Regions from separate parts of the Homo sapiens genome. Here region 1 is linked to region 2. The links are contacts of gene promoters, found by promoter capture Hi-C in blood cells and fetal thymus (Javierre and others, 2016). All regions are on one chromosome and are shown on one strand. Each heading gives the region's core, a stretch centred on a gene start or on the middle of the fragment in contact. The rest is flanking DNA. Distances are from core to core; before and after follow the strand shown.

The links. Contacts are between HindIII fragments. The CHiCAGO score rates a contact against its expected background, and 5 or more counts as called.
Region 1: the fragment with the promoter of AADACL3 here is called in contact with the fragment with the promoter of PRAMEF12 in region 2 in 2 of 17 cell types (total B cells and M0 macrophages); the score reaches 5.9 in total B cells.

Annotation. Positions count from the first base shown.
Region 1 is chr1:12,713,299-12,718,025 of GRCh38, forward strand. It overlaps AADACL3 (arylacetamide deacetylase like 3), which reads left to right and starts at 2,812. Exons shown (of 4, transcript NM_001103170.3): 1 at 2,812-3,046. The coding sequence starts at 2,879. RefSeq lists an enhancer at 2,287-3,486. The HindIII fragment of the contact is 3,124 bases long and covers 1-3,118 here.
Region 2 is chr1:12,770,029-12,775,102 of GRCh38, forward strand. PRAMEF12 (PRAME family member 12) reads left to right here and starts at 3,710. Exons shown (of 3, transcript NM_001080830.5): 1 at 3,710-5,074. The coding sequence starts at 4,840. The HindIII fragment of the contact is 4,010 bases long and covers 2,026-5,074 here.

The DNA.
Region 1 (4,727 bases), core at 1,562-4,061, 58 kb before region 2:
ACAGAAGATACAAGGTCCAAATAAAAGAAGGAGAAAAATAAGTATTAAAGGACTAAGAATTGGGAGGACCCAGGACATCCAATTAGAGAGTGCCCAAGAGGGTTGAGCATAATTACTTGCTTGGTTGGTGAGTTTTTGGGAAAAGACCATTAGTCCGTTTTACCTTTCCTGACCATATCCAGGCCATCACCAATCATTCTATATGACAAATGCTCCCTTTAACAACCCCACAATATTGCCCTTTACCACAAAATCTTCTGTCAGCTTAATCTCTCCCACTCTAAGTTCCCATGCTGCCCCTAATCCCCCTCGAAGCAGCCCTGAGAAACATCACCCATTATCTCTCCATAGTACCCCGAAAATTTTTCACTGCCCCAACACTTCAACACTATTTTGTTTTATTTTTCTTATTAATATAAGAAGACAGGAATGTCAGGCCTCTGAGCCCAAACCTGCATGTATACATCCAGATGGCCTGAAGCAAGTGAAGAATCACAAAAGAAGTGAAAATGGCTGCTTCCTGCCTTAACTGATGACATTCCACCATTGTGATTTGTTCCTGCCCCACCTTAACTGAGCCATTAACCTTGTGAAACCTTCTCCTGGCTCAGAACCTCCCCCACTGAGCACCTTGTGACCCCCGCCCCTGCCCGTAAGAGAAAAACCCCCTTTGACTGTAATTTTCCACTACTCACCCAAATCCTATAAAACAACTCCACCCCATCTCTCTTCGCTGACTCTCTTTTCGGACTCAGACTGCCTGCACCCAGGTGAAATAAACAGCCTTGTTGCTCACACAAAGTCTGTTTGGTGGTCTCTTTACACAGACACGCGTGACACCCAGCACTTTGGGAGGCCAAAGCGGGTGGATCACCTGAGGTCAGGAGTTCGTGACCAGCTTGGCCAACATGGTGAAAACCCATCTCTACTAAAATAACAAAATAAAAAATAACTAAAAATACAAAAAAAATTAGCTGGCATGGTGTCACACACCTGTAGTCCTAGCTATTCGGGAGGCTGAGGCAGGAGAATTGCTTGAACCCGGGAGGCGGAGGTCGCAATGAGCTGAGATTGTGCCATTGCACTCCAGGTTGGGTGACAGAGAGAGACTCAGTCTCTCTCTCTCACACACACACACAAATAAATCAATAAAAATAAAAATTAGATGGGCATGCATGGTGGTGCACACCTGTAGTCCCAGCTACTCCAGAGGCCGAGGTGGGAAGATTACTTGAGCCTGGGAGATGGAGGCTGCAGTGAGCCAAGATTGCACCACTGCACTCCAGCCTGGGTGACAGCATGAGACCCCATCTCAGAAAAAAAAAAAAAGAAAGAAAGAAAGAATGCTTCAGGCTGGCTTCCTGACATCTAATTAAGTCTTCCCACGTGCCAGACTCATACTAGTGCTTGACACAGGCTGGTGTTCTTGAGGCAGCCAACAGTCCTATGGAGTGGGGAGTACTATTATTATCCCCATTTGACAAACTTGGAAACTGAGGCTGATTGCACATAACGTGCTCATGATCAGCATGCTGGCATTTGGCAGAGCCAGGATTCAAATTCAAGTGTTGCAAATGCAGGGTTTCTCAACCACCATACTATCGGCTTGCTGGACTGCATAAGTCTTTGTGCATTGCAGGATGTTTGGCAATATCCCTGGCCTCTTGTCTATGACACTCTAGAACCAGCCCTCTGGCCCTTCCTGAGTGGGGACAACAAAAATGTTTCTGATATTCCCATATCTTCTGGGAGGTAAAATCTCTCCTGTCTGAGAACCACTGCTCTCTCACTCAAGCTGGGAGGCGGGAGACACAGCAGATATTACTATTGTTACTGCAGATGTGGGACTTGGTTGTTAGGGAAGATTTCCAATGGTGACATCAACCTCTGACCTGACCTGGAAAGGCAAGCAAGCACAGTTTCCCAGATTTGCAAGAAAGAGGAAAGCAAGCACAGTTTCCCAGATTTGCAAGAAAGAGGACAAAGCCTGTCTATTCATTCTCTCACTCCATAGGCATTTGCTGAGCACCTACAAAGTACCAAGCCCCAATCCAGCCTCTGGTGATAAAATGGCACAAAAAGAAAATTCCTGTCCTCCCAGACAATAAACAGACAAGTGAGGCAGGTGATGATAAAGGTCACAGGGAAAAACCAAGCAGTGGGGGGGTGAGGAAGGTGGGGGATGGGGAAGATGGGGGATGGGGAAGGTGGAGGATGAGGAAGGTGGGGGATGTGGAAGGTGGGGGGGTGGAAAGGGTGGGGGATGGGGAAGGTGGGGCTGGGGAAGGTGGGCGTAGGCATGCTGGCGGGAGTTAAATTTTAAATAAGATTGCCAGGGATGGCCTCACTGAGAAGGCAACATTTGAGCAGAGACCAGCAAGAGGGGAGGCATGGAGTCTAGCCGAGGTCTAGGGGAAGAATGGTGTACAGAGAATGGCTTGCCGTACAACAGCTCTGGGACATCCTCCACAGGCTGATGGATGGATGATAAGCTGGAGTTGAATCACAGAGTGGGGGGATGAGGTCCGAGGGCCGGTGGGAGGAATCGTGTTTATGATGTCCATTGTGACTTGGTGGCTTATCCAAGACTATTTCTAGTTAGCAGTGCCAGATTGTAAGCTGGGACTCTAGAACTTTCTTTTGTGGCTGGATCCGGCTGGATGGGCCACTTTCTTCTCTGCATGGGCCCTGTCCTAGAACCACATCCTCACCTGAGCCTGTGACTCACCTGGGCTGGGCCAGTGTTTGTGGGACCCAGGGAGGTGGGGGAGGACAGGTGTGACTTATAAGTGGAGGAGGTCTGCTGGCTCTGAACCATGTCCTAAATGGTTTACACTGCGCACAGCTTCCTCTCAGCCCGCTCTGAGCTGGAAGCAGCATGTGGGACCTGGCCCTGATCTTCCTCGCAGCAGCCTGCGTGTTCTCACTAGGGGTCACTCTGTGGGTCATTTGCAGCCATTTTTTCACTGTGCACATCCCTGCAGCGGTTGGCCACCCTGTGAAACTGAGAGTCCTCCATTGCATCTTCCAGCTGCTGTTGACTTGGGTGAGTTTTGTGCTTTATGTGTCCCCTCCAGCTGACCATTAAGGAAGGCGGCAGGAAAAATCACACACCGGAAGCTTCTAGCTGAATGAACACCGGTATCATGGGGCCTGCAGTGACAGCTGATCAGACCTTCTGAAATGTGCATAATCCCTATTAGGTGGTTCTCAGCCTCTTTGGGTGTTTCTGAAGCTGGCCCTGGCTAATATTCACAAAATTCAAAGAATGATCTGCTTTCTCAGTTAACAGAAAGAAAAAACCAGTCTGGTTCTATTCACCTGAGTGTCTCCCGCTGACTTTCTTTTTGTTGTTGTTGGTTTGTTTTATTTTTAAAATTGAGGTAAAATATGCATATAAAATTTACCATCTTTCGCATTTTTAAGTGTACCTTTCACGTGTCCATAAATGTGTCCATATTATTCACAGCACTCACCACTCTCAGAAGTTGTGAAGATATGAATGAATTTTCCTGAGTCTCTGGGCCCCCACTGCTATCTACCTGTTAGCTAGAGCCAGCAAGCCACAAAGTAAAAGGGTAGCGGATGAGTAGATTAGTGCCGGTGAGCAAAATTACAGAATGTGACTTTAAAAATATGTTGTTGCTTTTGAGAGCTAGAAAGCTGCCTAGGGAATATAGTTTGGTTCTGCTTCTGGTGTAATTTGTTAAAATACCTGTAAATGGAACTGTGTAGGTGTTGCCAATACGGATTTCTTGTACTTTTTCTTGTGCCTTGACAGAAACTGAATATACAAAATATTTTTTGTAAGTTTCTTACATAACGAAAAGCAATTGCCAGTGCCTCTTCTCAAGAGACACCCTAGGTGTGTCTTCTATGCTATTCAAAATAATTTCTATGCTATTCAAAAGAATGTAGCTATTACCTAAAAGAGAAGATCCCGGGAACTCTAGGCTTCTGATCTCCAGTCAGCTTTTATAAGATGCAGTGATTGGGTCCTAGGTTTTCCTACCCTTGATGCTCAGATTCTGTAGTCCAGGCTCCCAAATACAGTGACTCGATTTCCTCTTTTGCAAAGTAGGGAAAATTGCTCCTACTTCACAGGGTTTTGTGGAGACTCCATGAATAACCCTCTCCAGAAGGCTTATTATAATGCCTGACACAGAGGGAGCCCTCCTTAAATAGTAGCCATTGTTACTCTTTGTTGATTCTTTTATTTTTTATGCAAAGATGTGTTATGCAACTGCTGTGTGTCCTACGCCAGTCCTGGGCTCTAGGGCCAATGACAGGTGAGAGAGGTAAAGTTCCACAGGTCTGCCTTTAGGGAGCTTGTAGGGTCCAGGCAGTGGGCAGCGGGGAAGTGGTCTATAAAGAAGCTAACCCACAATAGAACAAGCTACAGATAAACAGCTTCCCAAAGCGGAGAATGCAAGGAGGACAGCAAAACCCGTCAGGGGAGCCGAGCAGGGCTTCTCTCCTGGGGCATCTTGAGCCCCCGGGGCCACAGAACACAAGGGGGTCATGGATTTGGATCACAGAACATAAGGGGGTCATGGATTTGGGTCACAGAACACAAGGGGGTCATGGATTTGGATGGGGTCAAAATTACCCCATGTTCACAACTAACTTCCAATTGAAATTCTTCTCATGAGGAATGAAGGCAACAAACCACAGTCCTGAAAGCCAGACCTCGACTTTTCACCAAGAGAAATCAGACATATTTGCAT
Region 2 (5,074 bases), core at 2,460-4,959:
GGCCCGACACCGTTCTGCCTCATTCCCTCCTGAAAAGCCTAATCCTCCCTGTTCCACGAGGCTGTGATGAGTGAGGAGACAGAAATGCACAATTTTCAGAGAGCATCCCTTCCCCTGGCCACACGCCAAGCCTGCTTCCCTCTGACCTGTCCCTTGTCTTTGCATTCAGGATGGACACTCACCACCTACTCTCCCTCCCCAGGACTCCTCACTGGCCTGACTCTGTGCTCCTGGGGCACGGTGGGGCAGCCCCTGGAACCTCATGCAGACCAGGGCACACAAACGGCCTTGGGAACTCACAGTGTCATATCCAGGCCCCAGTCCCCCCAGGGTCTCAGACACAAGTCTGCAGCCGTTCAGGGACATGGCTCTGTGAGAGCCAGAGAACCTGGCCCCTGCCCTGCTGCCACTTCCCTCCTTCTCCCTTATTCCAGCCTCAGAAGCTCCTCTGGCCACTCACTCCCTGACTTGGCTTTGCTCTTTCCCTTAGTTCCTCTGGCTCTGTCCAGCCTGCAACAAGTCCCAAGAACGTCCCCTACTCCCAGGGTGCTACGAGCACCTCCCTAGCATCAACTCTCTGCTCTGAGGGTGACCCTCTCCTCAGATCCTTATTAGAGGAAAAAAGGAGCAGCCCCTGGTAGGGCAAGAAGTGATCTGACTCAGACAGAAAACAGACTTATCGCATCCCAGGTGCAGCTTGTCAGCTTTCAGGCTGGGCCAGGGGAGCTTGGAAAGGGAAGGCCCCTGCCCGGGAACCTCTCCCAGGGATTCCCATCAGCCTGGAATCCCTAGGAGAACCAGAGGAGTCAGGTCTTCCTCTGCAAGCCAGGCAAGGTCAGTCACCCTGCAACAGTCCCAGGTGCCTCTTTAGGTCCACAGCAGCAGCTGAGGAGCTCCCTGCTTTGTGCCTTGCTATGTTCACCAGAATACCTCAGTAGAACTTGGGGAGAATTCCTTCATTACTGCTGATGACAGGGAAAGGGTCTTCAAGCATCATGGCCATGTTCCAAGCTCCAGGAGAGATGGGCTGATATTCCTGAGATGCAGAGTGTGGGCTGCCCTGACCCTTTCCAGGCGCCTCTGGCCCAGCCTTAGAGCTGAAAAGGCTGCACCTGGAGAGGAAAACAGAAGCTCAGAAATATTCTAGAGACCCTGAGCAAGGGCCTGGGGGAAACTTTGAGATCCCAGTGGGGATTCCATGAGTGGAGAAGGGGTCAGGTGGTTCCTTGAGATGAACTGCGAAGGCTGCTCTGACCTGGGCAGCAGACAAGCACCTTGAGAAGAACAGGCGACAGGATATGGTAGAAAAGCCCCCAAGTGCAGGATTCTCACCAGGGTCCTGGGGGTGGTGCAAGACTCCCTGAATTGGGTAGGAAGGAAAAGGCTGTCAATCAGTTCTTTGTAACATTTAGGTTATTGAACCCCTTGGGGGATCCTCTGAGCCCTCACCTGAGGGATCTGCCAATCATTTGCGGCCTGAACATGGGCAGATTCCTCTCCCTGGCCGAGTCTCAGGGTCACCAGGTTAAAAATGCGGGAAAGAGCAACATACCTTAGGTTCACTGGGAGGGAGAGGTGAGGTCTCTGTGAGGGAGAGCTGGGTGAAAAGTACTCAGCCCCTGCTGTGTCTCGTGGATGCTCAGTCAACAGAGATGCTCACGACCATCCTTGGTGCTGAGCTCACCCTCAGCCTCAGGTTCACAAAGCAAGGGGCTGGGAAGTAGAAGCCTCACTGAGTACATTTCAGTTTAACTTGATTGCACACATAAGGCATTGATAGTGAGGTCAGAAATGTGGAGAGAAAACATTTCCAGAAAGATTCCGAGATGGAGAACATCCTTCGAAGAACTCCAGCTTTGGTGGGCCAGTGGCATCTCAGAGCTGTTTGGGTGTCATAAAAAATGGGAGAGAAAGGCCTGGAGGATTCTCTGGGGTGGGGGAGGCTCTTGCTACTTTGTATCCCAAAACATCAGAAGAATCACGGTGTGATTCTGCCCAGGATGGGAGCCACCCCTAAGCTTACAAAGCTTGCAGCGTGATACGGAGCTCTGGGTTTTGTGGGGAAATGTACTAGGATGTGTGCACTGTGCTTAAAGAGAGAAAAACTGAGTTCTCTTATTTTCTTTGTTTCTCTTTTTTTTTTTTTTGGGACAAGGTCTCACTCTGTTGGGTTTCCCTCTGTTGAGACAAGGTCTCAAGGCTGGAGTGCAGCAGCACGATCATGGCTCACTGCAGTACTGACCTCCTGGGCTCAGGGAATCCTCCCATCTCTGCTTATGGGGTCACTGGGAATACAGGTGCACATGACCATGTCTAGGTAGATTTTTTTTTTTTTACAGAGACAGTGTTTCACCATGTTACCCAGGCAGGTCTCAAACTCCTGGACTCCAGTGACCACCGTGCCTGGCCTGAGTTTTCTTCATATGCCTAATGTTGTTGTTCTGATCAGAATCTCTATGTTCAATATTAGGGACAAGAGAGGACTTTAAGGATGAGAAAACATTAATGATCAAAATATACCTGGAAAGGGGCCGATGGGATTGATGAGGATGAAGGGCCCTGGGAAATGCCTGGACCTGAGGGTTGCTGGGAAATGTTCCACTGTGGGAAGATCCCTGAGTCTAAAGGAAAGATTTCCAGACCATAGCGCCATGACAGGGAGACACGGACCCTTGTGCATTTCTCCCCCATGTCCTGCAGAGCCCACAGCTTCCACCCTCTGTGGCTTCCAGCTTGGGGGAGTCTCCCTTCTTAGGCCTGGCCACTGTGCTTCTGTCTGGCCTCTGTCCCAGCTCACATTCTCAGATTCAATCTCCCGAAGCTGGTTTTCTGAGGGGTGCCCATCATTTTTGTGAGTAAACACGCTTTACCTTCTAGAGGTGACCAAGACTGTATCTCGTCCCATGCCCTCAAAGGCAATATTGTGTTTTGAGTCTACAGTGTCTCTTTTGTAATTATTTCCTTTTCAGTTTTTGAATTCAATCTAAATGGAGTCTTTCAATCCTTCCGTCTCCTCTCCCACAAAATACCCACCATGTTTTATGCTGTCTTGGTTCCTTCCCAGGGTCCCATTAGAACACCCGGTCCCATCCTGCCCAGCCCCCACCTCACTTTGTAATTTTGGTTTAATTTCCTCCGGAGAAGCCTGAACCTTCGTCTTGAGATCAATCACACCCTCAGTGGTTCCCCTCTGCCACCTGAATGGGCATATGATCTACCATGTTAGAAAGCGTAAATCCCAGCTGACCACTGGATACGCAGAGATATTTATTCTGCTTTCTTAGGGATGAAATTACTGTCTTCTTAGAGCTGTTTTAGCTCTGAGACATTTTGATAATGTTTATGTGGCCAAAGATCCCCCAGCAAAGATACCTTCAGGTTTTGTTTTTTCTGTCAAATGCCAGAAACAGATTCAACCCTTTCCTGCATCACTATGAAGCTCTCATGTCAGTCAAACTCCATCAGTGTTTGTGGAATAAAGGAATGAATGAGTTGTGGACTTTCACCCTATTATTTATATCTTTCACTTTCATAAACGTATATCTGATCCAATCAATTAATCAGAAGAAAGTCGCAAACTCAATCAGGATTAACTGGGTGGAACTTCAGAATCTAATCAGACATCATTTTCTGATTGGAAGTTGGTTGTTGAGATGGGGAGGGTGTGGTTAGAAAGGTCCATAAAAGCTCCCGAAGGTGCACAGGAGAGAATCCAAGGCGCTGACACCTGGAGCTACTGCTCGGTTCTCTGAGAGGTTGCAGCACCCTGCAAACTGAGTCCAGATCTGGTAAGTCACCACCTCCTTAGGGTCATGCCCATCTGATCTGCAGCCAGCCAGCCAGTCAGGGATGGTGACATGCAGCCCAAGGTGGCAGAGAGAATTTTCTTGTCTGTTTTCAGAAGAACAAATTTAGGCTTTGATTTTTCCTCTAAATGTAGTTTTGTCTTCATCCCCCAAAATTGGATTTGTGCTTGGTTTTTGTCATTTCAAAATTCTTATTGAAGCAGTTTTTTTTTTAACAAGAGATATTAAAAAGTTACAACTGGTTGAATTTTTATTTCGTGACATTTGAAATAATTGGTTTTTGTGCCCTTAAATTATAGTTCATAGACTTGGTGGCATCGTGATTTTACATGTTAGGCCTTAGTTTTTACTAATACCTTAAAGATATTCCATAGGCCATTCTCAAGAGTGGAGTCTTTGTTCTGAACATGGGACCCATTTTTTTCCCCTAGATTCCATCCCAAAGTGGGTCATTGTGAGTCTGTGTAAGAGATCAACATTGGAACCTTCATCTGAGAGTTAGTGTTTTTATCCCTAACTTTCACAGGCTCTAGAACACTGTCATGCTGTTTTTACAATTTCTTGTTACAATTTTTCAAAATAAAAAATAATGGCGCTGATTCCAAGGAGTCCCTTTAGTCTTCTGCAAGCATGTCAATTGTGGGAACTGAGAATGTAGGCTGTGTGGGGCCACAGGACATTCTCGTTCCCATTGTTTTAGGGTGGTAAGTGACAAGAAATATTTTCTCAAAAAGGTGGAGCTTAGCTTTCAGGATCCTCAGCAACGCTTCCCAGTGTTACTGAGATTTAGTGCAGCAATGGTTGAAAATGAATGGGCCAGTGGTTACCTTGCCCTCTCCTCATTGTTTGGAAGACATTCTTTATGGTACCAGCAAGGGCAGAATTACAGATTTGTGTCCAGAAAGTGCAGAGTGGAATTGGGGTGAACTAATTACCTTTCCACCTCTACCAGAGCAATGACATTGGCACTAGGAGATGATGAAGTGATGTGATTTGCCGTAAGAATGATGTTTTTTTCTCTAGATTCATCAGGATGAGCCTCCAGGCCCCACCTAGACTCCTGGAGCTGGCTGAGCAGAGTCTGCTGAGAGACCGGGCCTTGGCCATCCCCACCCTGGAGGAGCTGCCCAGGGAGCTCTTTCCCCCACTGTTCATGGAGGCCTTTACCAGGAGATGCTGCGAGACCCTGACAACTATGGTGCAGGCCTGGCCCTTCACCTGCCTTCCTCTAGGGTCCCTGATGAAGTCATGTAATCTAGAGATCTTTC